Regions from separate parts of the Homo sapiens genome. Here regions 2, 3 and 4 are each linked to region 1. The links are contacts of gene promoters, found by promoter capture Hi-C in blood cells and fetal thymus (Javierre and others, 2016). All regions are on one chromosome and are shown on one strand. The core of a region is centred on a gene start or on the middle of the fragment in contact, and the rest is flanking DNA. Distances in the headings are between cores, read along the strand shown. Region 1 holds the start of NOL3 (nucleolar protein 3). Region 2 holds the start of ZDHHC1 (zDHHC palmitoyltransferase 1). Region 3 holds the start of CES4A (carboxylesterase 4A). Region 4 has its middle 9.2 kb from the start of CBFB.

Region 1 (3,413 bases), core at 603-3,102:
CCACCCACCTTGGCCTCCCAAAGTGTTGGGATTACAGGCATGAGCCACCGCACCCAGCTGCTTTGTCCATTTATTGTCAACCAAGGATTATGGCCCATTCCTGTGAGTGGCCTGACCCAGCCAGCAAGACCCCCGGCATTAGGAGGCAAAGACATCAGGCCTTGAACCATGCCCTCAGCCCACCCCCACCCTGATAATAACTTCTTCTCCTCCCCGCCTTGGCTTTGTTCACACGGCATCCTCCCATCTCTTCTTCCCTTTGCTGTCCCTCCTCTGCCTCCTTCTCTGGCTCTAGGAGGCTCGGCCTTCTCTGGGAGAGAGGATTTAGTCCTAGCCGCCATCCTGCCTCCCAGGTCTTTCTCAGTACCCTCTGGTGTCACACTATACCTCCCCCGTCACTTCACACCCTGGCTTCCTCCCATTGAAGCCCTTCCCCACCAGGCCGAGACCAGGACTACCCCCTGCCCCTCCATCTCCCTTTATGTCCCGTATGTGATGAATCTTGCTTCTCCACTTCTCAGTGAGTCTCCATCAGCTCCTGCCTTGCCACCCCACCATCGTCACCTCATGTCCTGTAACAGTCCCTCTGAGCCCCTCTCACTCCCATTCTGCCAGGCCCGATAGCACAGTGACTTTGACAACCCTCTGGGCTAGGATTGCTGTTCCCATTTTACAGATGAGGAGACAGGCTCAGAGATTCAGTGGTAAAACTGGAATCTTACTTGCTCCAGCCTGAACTATGAGGAACTGAACTATATTTTCCTGTCTAGCAGAATTCCATCCTAAATACCTATCTACCTCCCCCCCACACCCCACTGCCCATCAGAGACAACCCAAAATATCTGGTCTGGCTACTCTAGCCTCCTCCCACCACCCTGGACAGCCAGGCCCTTCCCAGCTTCCCTCCACCAGCCAGGGATCGGAGAACTCACTATGCCTCTGGCACCTCGGAGCCTTTGCTGATGCTGATCGCTAAGACTGGAATCCTTTTCTCCTCCCTCCGCTCCGTGGACCTATCCATCGTCCAGGACTCAAATGTTCCCTTGTCTACACCAATGCCTAAGTGTCCCAAGGGCTGGTGGTTCCTTCTTCTGTGTACCGTGAACAACACATGCCCTCACTAGTGCATTAACTGACATCATTGCACTGTGTACACGCAGACTCTCCGCTTTCTTCAACTGAGTTTTCCAGAGTGTCCCTCCAATCGGTGGGCAAAGGAAGGGAGAGGGGGACAGCACCTACTCGGGACAGACACAGGGAGGGTGCAGATTGGATTGGCCCCTCCTTCTCTCCAACCTAAGTTGTTTTCATGTTAGCCGCCTCCTCCTATGACCCCAAGTCCTGCCCTTTATCCTGTCTGGGGGTAGAGACTCCAGCTGGTCTGGGCCCTCCCTTTGAGGCTCACACAGCTCTCAATACCGAAGTTATTTAGCGGCCAGTCCTTCGAGGGTGACAGGTCCGATTCTTCCCAGAGAGCCAGGTGGCGGGGCACGGAGCTGGGTCCCAGCCCCCAACCCCACCTCGCTGCGCGGGCTCTTTGGCCAGGAAGCCAGGGTCTTGGGACAGTGAAGAGCCTTTGCGCATGTGCGACTGCACGGATTTTCCCCCCCCGCCCCTTACCTCCCTCCACCCAGTCCCAGAGCTTGAGAGTCCTGCGGCAGGGCGGGGCCCACAGTCCTACCCACCCCGCCCCCCCGACCCCCGAGCGCCGCAGCGGGTGGTGGGGCGCTGATTCTGCCCAATCTCGGTTTCCCTTCCCTCCCACAGCCGGGAGTGGGGCTCCCGGTCTGGCCCGTTTTGGGCGTCCCCACTCACGGGTCAAGCCTCGGCGGGGCAGGAGATGACGGTGCAGAAAGGGCCGGGCAGGGTGGGGGTGGGTGCAGCAGCTGCGGCGGGGGCGGGGCGGCCAGGGCTGCTGGGAATAGGGAGGGTGAGGGTTCTTCCCCGGGCACTAGGAGCCACACCGCGGAGGCCGCGCGCTGGCTGGGGACGTGCATGTAGTCAGCTTTCCCTCCCCACCCGGGGCGCACCAGGAGATGAGGCCAGGAGGGGGCAGTTCGGCCCGCGGCCCCACACGTCCAGCGCCCACTCAGGGCCTGCCAATTTCCAGGTGCTTTCCATCTATCTTGTCATCGACCCCTCTTCTCTGCCTGTCACAGAGGAAGTTCAGAGAAGGATACCAACTCACCAGGATCACAGAACGCATGCATTGCAGAGCTGAGCGCGACCCAGAAGCCCCCGCTTCCCAGAGATTGCAGCGGCCCCGCGCCAGCCCTGGACCCGGGCCTAAGCAAGGGAGCTAGGCACCGGATCCCCAAGCACCTCCACCCTCCTGGGGTTCCTCTATTAAAAACCTAGTATCTGGACGCTTCTACAAATGCAAAATCACCCCCCACCCATAACTCCTGTGCTCCCTGGTCGATAGAGAAAAGAGACCAGAAACAGAAAAAAAAAAAACGGAGTTTATGTGCAGGGATAGTCGGGGTAGTGGAGAGAGGCCATTTAGTAGTGGGGGCTTCGCTCACCCCCGATAGGGGGCGCCAGGAAGCCAAGAAGGATGTGCAGCGGCGGACTGGTTCCAAGCCCCTTCAGAGGCGCGGGGTCTTAGGGGGAGGGACTGGCTTCCGGGCCCAAGTAGGAGGCAGTCCGGCTCTCAGGAGTGCTATAAATGGTTAAAGCCCCAGGCAGGCCCAGGGCTGGGCCTCCCAAGGCCGCCTGGACATCCAGCAGGAGTGGGGCCCCGAGCGTGGGGTCCTTCCCTAGGAGAAGTGGGACTGCGCTCACCAGGGGAAATGTTCCCCCTCCTTTCTTCAGGGAAGGAGAGCCCTGCCCGCCTGCCTTCTGCTCAGTTAGGATAAAACATCCATTCTTAACCTCCCCACTCTCGCCCAATGGTGAGGGCATGGGTGGCTCAAGGAACGCTCTGCAGTGCAGCCTGAACTCAGGATTTCCCTGCAAATTGCAGATTGCCCCCTCACTCAATCAAGGTAGCTCAGCCCAATCACGGCGTCCTCCCAGGTAGGAGTCATCACAACCATTACCTGGGCTTGGAGAATTTAACCCCTTGACCGCCAGCTCAGGCTCACCCCGCTCTGGAACCAAGGGCTGCATCTGCGTGAGAACCGCAGGGAGCAGCTGGGGAGGGGACCTAGCAGCTGAGGGGGACAGCTGGGAAATCACTGTGACAATTCTTCTAGAGACACGGCTTTGGCTCACAGAGAACAGCTATGGACCAGAGGGCTTGACTCAGCCACCCCTGGCCTCTGCCCTCCCCGACCCACTTCTTACCAAGGACAGCTCCATGTCCAAGTCCATCAGGGTCCATTCTCGCCCTTGGAGACTGGGGCCCAGCACCTGAGGAGAGCTCTGGGTCAGTGGTGCCCTCCCCAGGCTCCACAGAGAGCTAGACCCCA
Region 2 (3,413 bases), core at 624-3,123, 250 kb before region 1:
AGATCTTACTTTCACCCAGGCTGGAGTGCAGTGGCATGATCGTAATTCACTGCAATCTTGAACTCCCGAACTCAAGTGATTCTTTTCTCCTGCCCCAGCCTCGTGAGTAGCTGGGACTATAGGCACAGGCCACCAGGCCCAGCTATTTTTTTTCATCTTTTGTAGAGATGGGAGTCTCTCTATGTATCCCAGGCTGGTCTCAAACTCCTGGCTTCAAGTGATTTTCCTGCCTCAGCCTCCTTAAAGTGCTGGGATTACAGGTGTGAGCCACTGCATCCAGCCTCATCCTTCACCTTGATTTCTGGGTCATGATCTCTGTTTGACCCGAAGTTTTCCAATTCCAGATAAGAGTTAAGTAGTCAGCTTGTACTCTGAAGCCAGAATAGCATTGATATTTATCTCACATTGAGTTTGAGTTTATCAGTCTTGAAAACAAGAATTTAAGTAATAGGTTATGTCACTTGCACAAGGACCCACACACCTGTCATGTGACAGAGAAGGAGTAGTTATGTTGCCTAATAAAACATACAATAAGTATGCTTGTGACTTATACATTTTAGAGATAAGGATGTTTTCTTTCCCTATCTGTCATATCTGCCTTGGAGATGCGCACAGGACAGATAGCAGAAGACAAAGTGTCTTCCTGTCTTTTGAGAAAGCCTGAGCTCATAGAAGATTCCATTCTGAGTGTCCACAAGGAGAAGAGGAGAGGGGACTTTTAGGGAAACCAAGTTAGCAGGGAAGTCTCCCAGGTAGAGAAAGGGAAGGGAGGCTGCAGGCCATGGAGCAGAGGAAGCAGGTGTCTGTCCCTGGCAGCCCCAGGGAGAGGCAGGGGCCTCAGGCAGGGATGGCCTCATAGAGCCCAAACCTGAAAATCTTTGTGGACTGGAGCAATGGTTGTGGCCTCAGTACCAGACAAAACCCTGACCAGAGAGTTTTTTGCTTATTTGTTTTTGATTGTTGTTTTTTGCTATAGGAAAACATGAGTCCTTTGGAATTACCTAGCTAAAAGGAGTACAGTGGAGACTGAGACTGAATTTCCCGGCCGGGCAGGGGCTCACGCCTGTAATCCTAGCACTTTTGGAGGCTGAGGTGGGCGGGTCGCTTGAGTTCAGGAGTTCGAAACCAGCCTGGGCAACATGGCAAAACCACGCCTCTACAAAAAAATGCGAAAATTAGTCGGGCGTGGTGGTGTTCGCCTGTAGTCCTAGCTACTCTGGAGGCTGAGGCGGGAGGATCGCCTGAGCCCAGGAGTTCGAGGCTGCAGAGAGCCGTGATCGTGCCACTGCACTCCAGCCTGGGTAACAGAGACCAGTTTAAAAAATAGAAAAAGACTGAATTTCCCATCAGCCTGGAAGATTGGGGCTTGATTTTTGCTTGATTTAAAGGCAATAAATAAATGAGATATTTTGTGCTGCTTATTTTAAGCTCTTACGCTTCTCGCTTTATATTCTGGGGTACCTGCATTTTTAGTGGTGTAATTTATTTGTCTAGATCTGTTTGCCTCTTAACCTGTAAGCTCCCGGAAGGGTCGGGATATCATGGATGTTCCAGCACATACGCTCATTGAAGTGTGCAGGTTGACTGGGGTTGGGGGAGGTCTCTTCTTGAGAGCGGTGGTCTCAGGATAGAAACTGGAAGGGGGCGCTTTTGAGATGTTAGGATTTCGGGGAGACAAGCTGTGACTCGGGAGTAGGGAAAAGCGGATTTTCTAGACGAAAGGTTAGGAAGAATCTGGGAATGGGCCGACTGGGGCACCAAGAGGGTCCCTGGCAAGCCCCGCCCTGGCCGGGGGACCGGCGCGGAGTGACGCAGCGCGGTTTGGCCGCTGTGGGGCGCCGTAGCCCGCGCCGTTGTCAGGGGAACGGGCCCAGCGCCGGACGAGGCCCAGCCAGTCTGGGTCTGGCCTGGCCGCCCCTCCAGCCTGCTGGAGCCGGAGCCGGAGCCGGAGCCGGAGCCGGAGCCGGAGCCAGAGCCAGAGCTCGAGGACTCACCGGCCCAGTCTCCGTCCGGGATGGGGCCCCGCTCCCGGGCGCGTTGCCGCCCAGTCCCGGGGACCGTCCCTACCGCGAGGGTCTGAGGCGCGGCTGCCCCGGGGAGGGTGGAAGGCCAGGCGTGGGGCCCGAACCTCTGGCTGACTTTGGCAGGGCCCATCTGGCACGGCCTCCGCGGCGCGCAGGTGAGGAGTCCCCGCCCGGTTTCTCACCTCGGAGCCTGGCTTGAGCCACGGGGTAGCGGATGCTGCCGCCTGGCCGGCTTTGGGCTCGCTTCCGCCTGGAGCCGGTGGCCTGAGTTCCAGGGCCCCGGCAGAGCGCGGGGCTTCCTTTTAGCATGCATCAAGTTCACAGATCTTCCTTGAGCGCTTACTCTTTGCCAGGCTCTGTGCCAGGCGTGGGCACAGAGGACTCCCAACAGACGTGGTCTGTCTCCAGAACCCAGAGCATTAAGGAAGGGGGCTGGGAAGCGGATGTCATACATGACTAAAGTGATTTCAGGTCGGGTTAGGCTCTCTGGTATTGAAATGGAGGGGTTGGTCATGGAGGGTCTGTTTTAAAAGGAAACCATGGGAAGAGTTTTAGTTTTTTCTTTGAGACGGAGTTTCGCTCTTGTCACCCAGGCTGGATGGAGCGCAGTGGCACGACTCGGGTCATTGCAACCTCCGCCTCCCGGGTTCAAGCCATTCTGCTGCCTCAGCCTCTGGAGTAGCTGGGATTACAGGCGCCCGCCGCCACGCCCGGCTAAGTTTTATATTTTTAGTAGGGACGGGGTTTCACCATGTTGGCCAGGCTGTTCTCGAACTCCTGACCTCAGGTGATCCACCCGCCTCGGCCTCCGAAAGCGTTGGGATTACAGGTGTGAGCCACCGTTCCCAGCCAATTTTTTATTTTTTTGAGACAAGGTCTCCCTTTGTCACCCAGGCTGGAGTGCTGTGGTGTGAACATGGGTCACCGCAGGCTCCGGCTCCCGGGCTCAAGCGATCCTCCCGCCTCAGCCTCCCAAGTAGCTGAGACTACAGATACCCGCCACCACGCTCAGCTAATTTTTTAAGGTTTTGGTAGAGATGAGGTCTTACTATTTTGCCCAGGCTGGTCTCGAGCTCCTGGTCTCAAGGGATCCTCTTGCCTCAGCCTCCCAAAGTGCTGGGATTACAGGTGTGAGCCACTGCAAGCGGCAGAAGAGTTTTTTATTTTTTGTTTATTTTTATTTTTATTTTCCAGATGGAGTCTCGCTCTGTCACCCAGGCTGGACTGCAATGGCACAATCTCGGCTCACTGCAACCTCCACCTCCCGGGTTCAAGCGATTCTCCTGCCTCAGCCCCCCAAGTCTGGGATTACAGGCGCCTGCCACCACACCCAGCTAATTTTTGTATTTTTAGTAGAAACGGGGTTTCAACATGTTGGCCAGGCTGGTC
Region 3 (3,413 bases), core at 397-2,896, 180 kb after region 1:
CTAAAAAAATACAAAAATTAGCTGGGCTTGTGGTGTACGCCTGTAGTCCCAGCTACTTGGGAGGCTGAGGTGGGGAGAATTGCTTGAACCCGGGAGGTGGAGGTTGCGGTGAGCGGAGATGGCACCATTGCACACCAGTCTGGGTGACAGGGCGAGACTCCGTCTCAAAAAAAAAAAAAAAAAAAAAGAAAAGATGAAAAGAAAATGCGCCAAAATGTTAAAAGCGGAGTAAGCAAAGTTTCCTTCAAATTTAAAATAATGGATATATGTATATATGGGCAAAATTTATTTATGATAGAGGTCAGACTAGTGGTAACTTTGAGTATTGACTGAGAAGGAGTACATGGGACGCTGGAGATGGTTTTTTGTTTTTTTTTTTGAGATAGAGTTTCGCTCTTGTTGCCCAGGCTGGAGTGCAATGGCACGATCTCGGCTCACTACAACCTCTGCCTCCTGGCTTCAAGCGATTCTCCTGCCTCAGCCTCCTGAGTAGCTGGGATTACAGGCATGTGCCACCATGCCTGGCTAGTTTTGTATTTTTAGTAGAGACGGGGTAATAATATTGGTTAGGCTGGTCTCAAACTCCTGACCTCAGGTGATCTGCCCGCTTCGGCCTCCCAAAGTGCTGGGATTACAGGTGTATCCTTGTAAGTTAAAAAAACTTTTTAAAAAATGTTTTTTAAAAATAGAGACAGAGTCTATTTACCCAGGCTAGGTCTCACTATTTGCCCAGGCTGGTCTCAAACTCCTGGGCTCAAGTAATCCTCCCACCTCAGCCTCTCAAAGTGCTGGAATTACAGGCATGAGCTACCATGCCTAACCCACTGGAAATGTTCTAGATGTTGATCTGGATAATGGTTACCATATATATATATATAATAATTAGTATAATAGATATAATTATACAGTGAAGATGTGTGCACCTTGCTGTATACATCTTATACCTCAGTAAACTTTTGTTAATGTATTAGATTGTTTTCACAGTAAAAAGTGTAGTACTCATTTTAAAAAGAAAGATATTGGGGAGAAATTTGAAGGTGGTAAAGAGGTTCATGTAGCAGAGAGGGGGCAGAGACAGGCCTCCTGCTTAGGAGAAGGAAAGAAGGATGGAAGGAAGGAAAAAGGTGGGAAGGAAGAAAAGATGTGGCCATGTTCTCAGACCCCTTCACCTGTGCCGGGAGGCAGGAAATACAGAGAAGCCCTGAGGTTCAGGGAGGCTAAAGGACTTGTCCAGACTCCCAGCTGGTAGATGGTTTAGTGTCCTGAAACCCTACCCTCCATTTGCCCAGGCCTTGTCTAAGTGCTCCTGCCCTGCTGTCCCCAGGAGAGGTTGAACTGGGGCCTGTCCCTCCATCCCTTGTGCCCGTCTTGCCTGACACTCTCGGGAAGGGGTGGGGGTCTTACCCAAGGCCGTCTGCGCCATCAGGCAGAGGGTGAGGCTCCAGCACAGAATCCACCTCATGCTCCAGCCAGCTCCTGCTGTGGGCAGGAGTGATGGCAACACTGTGGATGGCAACACTGTGGATGGCATGGTAGCCGTGTCTACAGTGTGTGAGCACACTTTTATCTGCTCTTAATCCCTGCCAGCAAGTACTGGGGCGGGAGGAATTGTAACCAGCTTCTGACCAGCCCACAGCCTTGTCTCTGCCTTGGGCAACAGGTCACGCTAGATGATCTTGGCTCTTCAAACTGATCAGCCTGCAATCTCCGCCCCGTTTGCTCATCTGTGCAGTGGCTTAAAGCTGAACATGTGTGAGTCAAGGTCTAAGCATACAGTGGGTGCCAAGATTGAAGTAGAACACCTGGTTACTTGGCCCTTCAGCCAGGGCTTCCTGTCTGTGGATTTAAGGGTCTTGGGCCTCCCTGCTCCCCAGTGCCTCGTCTAGCCTCTTCCCTGCCTTTCCTCGCACATGCTGACCCTTGGCTGTCCTCACAGTTTCATAGTCCACATGCGGAAGCTGGACCTGAAAGCAACCGTAATGTGGGAGCCCAGAGGGGCACCCGAGGAGTGAGCCCAGAGCCGGGTGGTGGGAATGAAGATTCCCTGGAAAAGATCTAATCTTCTAAGTAAAGGATGAGGAGGAGTGGGCCAGGCAAAGAAAGATCCTGTTTGAAGTTTGGAGCCACAGGAGCAAGTGTGGGAGGTGGAAGCAAGGAGACAGCAGTCCCATCTTCAGTCAAAGGTAAGATGGGGCTGGGTGTGGTGGCTCATGCCTGTAATACCAGCACTTTGGAAGGCTGAGGCAGGTGGATCACCTGAGGTCAGGAGTTCGAGACCAGCCTGGCCAACATGGTGAAACCCCGTCTCTACTAAAACAAAGAATACAAAAATTAGCTGGGCGTGGTAGTGTGTGCCTGTAGTCCCAGCTACTCAGGAGGCTGAGGCAGGAGGATGGCTTGAACCTGGGAGGCGGAGGTTGTAGTGAGCCGAGATCGGGCCACTGCACTCCAGCCTGGGTGACAGAGTGAGACCCTGTCTCAAAAATAAATAGGCCAGGCACGGTGGCTCATGCCTGTAATCCCAACACTTTGGGAGGCTGAGGCAGGCGGGTCACGAGGTCAGAAGATCGAGACCATCCTGGCTAACACCCCGTCCCTACTAAAAATACAAAAAATTATCCGGGCGTGGTGGCACGCGCCCGTAGTTCCAGCTACTCAGGAGGCTGAGGCAAGAGAATTGCTTGAAACCAGGAGGCGGAGCTTGCAGTGAGCCAAGATGGCGTCACTGTACTCCAGCCTGGGCGACAGAGTGAGACTCCATCTCAAAGAACAAAAAAAAGGTAAGATGTTTCCTCTCTCGTGTACCCCCAAAGTCTGGGGTCCTGGCCCATCTTTGTGAAAAGAGGGTCTGTTGGGCTTCTGTGCTGGGGAGGGGAAAAGGCAGGGGAACAGAGAACTTCTCCCTTGGCCCACAGCCTCTTGCTCTATAGGCCTGACAGATGGTTAAACCTCCTTCTTTCACAGTCAATTTTCTGAGTTCTTCGGAGATGCTCTTTATTTGGGACTCCTCTCCCACAGTTCCCATCCTTGTGACCCTTCCTCAGTCCCAAGGAATGTGGCATTCACTGCCCAATCATTGCTGCCTGGGCTCTGTGCTCCTCTAATGAAGGCCCAAGATGACCCCCCACCCCTGCCTCTGCCACTTATCCTGTGGGGTCTACATGGGCAAACCTCCAATATCCCTTGCCCCACCTCAGCAGAGGTGTGGCCCATCCCATTGCAGCCCCTTCTGCCCCACTCACGATGGCGGGGTGGAGTCAGGCTCTGGCTGGCTGAGCCTCCTATGGTGGAAAGCACCACTCATCTTCCCCATGGTCTCATGCCCACAGGCTTGAGGGGAAAGAAGTGGGGTGAGAACTCACAGCGAGGTAACAGGTCTCTACAAAGAAAATCTCTCCCCTAACTCCTCCCCA
Region 4 (3,413 bases), core at 482-2,981, 150 kb after region 1:
GGCAGAATGATTGCCCCTCAGCGTGCCCTCACCAATGCCTATGAGACAAGACTGGACTCAACTACCTCAAAGGCATCCCACAGGCTTGATAGCTTCCCTAGTCCCGGCTTATGCTAACTTCATCTTGCTCCCTCCTGCCCAGTGGGAGCTCCCAGCATGCTTTGCAGTTTAGGTAGTGTTGGTGACGGAGATGGACACAAAGATGAACAACCCAGGTTTCCCTTCAGTGAATTTCTTTCTCTCTTTCTTTCTTTCTTCCTCTTTCTCTCTCTCTCTCTTCTTTCTTTCTTTTCTTTTTCTTCTTTTTTTTTTTTTTTGACAGGGTCTTCCTGAGTCAAGTGCAGTGGCATGATCCTAGCTGATTGCAGTTTCCAACTCCTGGGCTCAGGCGATCCTCATCTCAGCCTCCTGAGTAGTTGGGACTACAAGTGCACACCACCACGTCTGGCTAATTGTTACTTTTTCTTTTTTCAATATAGAGTCACATTCTGTTAGCCAGGCTGGGGTGCAGTGGTGGCATCATTGCTCGCTGCAGCCTCAAACTCCTGGGCTCAAGTGATCCTCCTGCCTCAGTCTCACAATAGCTGAGACCACAGGCACACACCACTCCACCTGGCTAATCCATGCTTGCTTGCTTGCTTCCTTCCTTCCTTCCTTCCTTCCTTTCTTCCAGAGACGGGGTCTTGTTATGTTGCTCAGGCTGGTCTCGAACTTCTGGGCACAAGTAATCTTACCACCTTGGCCTCCGAAAGTGCTGGGGTTACAGGCACAAGCCACTGCATAAAGCAATTTTCCAAACACTCTCTCGCTGGCCTCTCCTTAATTTCTTCAAGATAAAGAGGGAAGGCCGGGCATGGTGACTCACATCTGTAATCCCAACACTTTGGGAGGCCGAGGTGGGGGGATCACGAGGTCAGGAGATTGAGACCATCCTGGCTAACACGGTGAAACCCTGTCTCTACTAAAAATACAAAAAAATAGCTGGGCGTGGCACATGCCTGTAGTCCCAGCTACTCTGGAGGCTGAGGCGGTAGAATCGCTTGACCCCAGGAGGCAGAGGTTGCAGTGAGCCAAGATCGTGCCACTGCACTCCAGCCTGGGTGACACAGCGAGACACCATCTCAAAAAAAAAAAAAAAAAAAAATGCCGGGCGCGGTGGCTCACGCCTGTAATCCCAGCACTTTGGGAGGCCAAGGCGGGTGGATCACGAGGTCAGGAGATGGAGACCATCCTGGCTAACACAGTGAAACCCCGTCTCTACTAACAATACAAAAATTAGCCAGGCGTAGTGGCGGGTGCCTGTAGTCACAGCTACTCGGGAGGCTGAGGCAGGAGAATGGCGTGAACCCGGGAGGCGGAGCTTGCAGTGAGCCGAGATTGTGCCACTGCACTCCAGCCTGGGCGACAGAGCAAGACTCCATCTCAAAAAATAAAAAATAAAAAATTAAATAAATAAATAAAGGATAAAGAGGGAAATAATTACTGTCTTATTTTGTAGCTCTTGAAATTGAGACTCAGAACAGGTGACTGGACTCATTCAAGGGCATATAGCCAGGTAGACTCAGAGAGAGAGAGATCCCAGAGAAGTCCTGCAGTTGAAGAAATGCAGTCACTTAACTCTTTAATTTTTTTTTTCTTTAGAGGTGGGGGTGTCTTGCTATATTGCTGCTCAGGTTGGTCTTGAACTCCTGGCCTCAAGTGATCCGCCTTCCTCGGCCTCCCAAAGTGCTGGGATTACAGGTGTGAGCCACAGCGCCCAGCCTATTTTATTTTATTTTATTCGTTCAAGGCTGTTTCTCAGTGTGAACTATTTCATTTCACTATTCCTTTTTTTTTTTTTTTTTTTGGAGATGAGGTCTTGCTATATTGCCCAGGCTGGAGTGCAACAGCTACTCACAGGCACGATCCCACTACTGATTAGCACAGGAGTTTTGACCTGCTCCATTTTCGACCTGGGCTGGTTCACCCCTCCTTAGGCTACCTGGTGGTCCCTCGTTCCTAGGAGATCACCATATCGATGCCACACTTAGTGCAGACACCTAATCAACATAGTGAATTACAGCCCAGAACTCCTGGGCTCAAGCAATCCTCCCGTCTCAGCCTCCCGAGTAGCTGGGACTGCAGGCACATGCCACTGTACCTGGCTAGTTTTCCGTTTTACCTTCCTTCACATGCTGACTCACCCTCAAGTGGTACCCATTCTCTTTCCTGATGTTTCTACAAAAATCTTGAGATTGAGCTTAATAGTCCAAGTCTGGGTTATCTGGTCATCCCTGAGCTGTGGTGTGGACACGGTGAATTGCCGAGGACAGGGTGGTGTCACGGGAAAAGGAATGGCTGTACCGTGCAGGCAAAAACATCAGAAGGTACCTGGGTTAGTGTCTAGCACAAAGTTGTAAGTGTTCAAAGAACGGTGGCTATGACACTGTTTATGGTCCCTTCTAGCTCTGAAATGCTATGAGTTGTACAACGCTTTGGTTGATACAAAGCCATCTGTAAACGTTGCCAGTAAGGGAAGCACAGGATAACAATTTGAGTTCACATAAGGTCTAGCCAAAATGCCATACAATGAGCTGAAAGGGTGCCTGAAACCAGGTGCAGTGGCTCACACCTGTAAGCCCAGCACTTTCGGAGGCCAAGGCAGGTGGGTCATCTGAGGTCAGGAGTTCTAGACCAACCTGGCCAACATGGCGAGACCCCATCTCTACTAAAAATACAAAAATCAGCTGGGTGTGGTGGCTTATGCCTGTAATCCCAGCTACTTGGGAGGCTGAGGCACGAGAATAGCTTAAACCTGGGAGGTGGAGGCTGCAGTGAGCCGAGATCGTTCCACCGCACTCCAGCCTGGGCGACAGAGCAAGATTCCGTCTCAAAAAAAAAAAAAAAAAAAAGTAAATGCCTGTGGCCTGCCTCCTTTTCTTTTTTCTTTATTCTTTTTTTTTTTTTTTTTGAGATGGAGTCCTACTCTGTCACCCAGGCTGGAGTGCAGTGGTGCGATCTTGCTCATTGCAACCTCTGCCTCCCGGTTTCAACGTTTCAAGCGATTCTCCTGTCTCAGCCCCCCGAGTAGATGGGATTACAGGCGAGCACCACCATGCCCAGCTAATTTTTTGTATTTTTAGTAGAGACGGGGTTTCACCATGTTGGCCAGGCTAGTCTTGAACTCCTGACCTCAGGAGATCTGCCCACCTTGGCCTCCCAAAGTGCTGGAATTACAGGCGTGAGCCACCATGCATGGCCTGGCCTGCCTCCTTTAGTAGTGGAGCAGGGGCAGTAGCAGTGCCAGAACCAGGGCATGGCCTGGAAAGGACTTCCTGAGCCTCTGGGGCCTGCTACATCCATAGCTCTTTCAAAAGATCCTGCTTCTATCAGCACTAAATCATCTGGCTGGACCTGGGACTGGACCTGCCCTG

What was found. The method cuts DNA at HindIII sites, captures the fragments that hold promoters and counts their contacts. A CHiCAGO score of 5 or more calls a contact.
Region 2: the fragment with the promoter of ZDHHC1 here is called in contact with the fragment with the promoter of NOL3 in region 1 in 1 of 17 cell types (erythroblasts); the score reaches 5.5 in erythroblasts.
Region 3: a contact is called between the fragment with the promoter of CES4A here and the fragment with the promoter of NOL3 in region 1, in 17 of 17 cell types (endothelial precursors, fetal thymus, non-activated CD4 T cells and 14 more). The highest score is 13.3, in endothelial precursors.
Region 4: a fragment that was not itself captured here is called in contact with the fragment with the promoter of NOL3 in region 1 in 15 of 17 cell types (erythroblasts, naive CD4 T cells, non-activated CD4 T cells and 12 more); the score reaches 10.1 in erythroblasts.

What each region holds. Positions count from the first base shown.
Region 1 is chr16:67,168,977-67,172,389 of GRCh38, reverse strand. It overlaps NOL3 (nucleolar protein 3), which reads right to left and starts at 1,852. Exons shown (of 4, transcript NM_001276309.3): 1 at 1,816-1,852. HSF4 (heat shock transcription factor 4) reads right to left here. Exons shown (of 13, transcript NM_001374675.1): 11 at 3,289-3,354; 12 at 3,042-3,111; 13 at 2,449-2,759. The coding sequence ends at 2,605. RefSeq lists a silencer at 1,606-1,895 and enhancers at 2,106-2,255, 2,746-2,795. The HindIII fragment of the contact is 13,408 bases long and covers 1-3,413 here.
Region 2 is chr16:67,414,937-67,418,349 of GRCh38, reverse strand. It overlaps ZDHHC1 (zDHHC palmitoyltransferase 1), which reads left to right and starts at 1,873. Exons shown (of 12, transcript NM_001323627.2): 1 at 1,873-2,179. LOC124903702 (a long non-coding RNA gene) reads right to left here and starts at 2,447. Exons shown (of 2, transcript XR_007065093.1): 1 at 2,207-2,447. RefSeq lists an enhancer at 1,327-1,984 and a silencer at 1,817-2,206. The HindIII fragment of the contact is 9,596 bases long and covers 1-3,413 here.
Region 3 is chr16:66,986,822-66,990,234 of GRCh38, reverse strand. It overlaps CES4A (carboxylesterase 4A), which reads right to left and starts at 1,646. Exons shown (of 14, transcript NM_001364782.1): 1 at 1,405-1,646. The coding sequence starts at 1,462. The HindIII fragment of the contact is 37,432 bases long and covers 1-3,413 here.
Region 4 is chr16:67,018,251-67,021,663 of GRCh38, reverse strand. It overlaps the pseudogene RN7SL543P. Among named protein-coding and RNA genes, the nearest start is that of CBFB, 9.2 kb to the left of the region's middle. The HindIII fragment of the contact is 5,986 bases long and covers 1-3,413 here.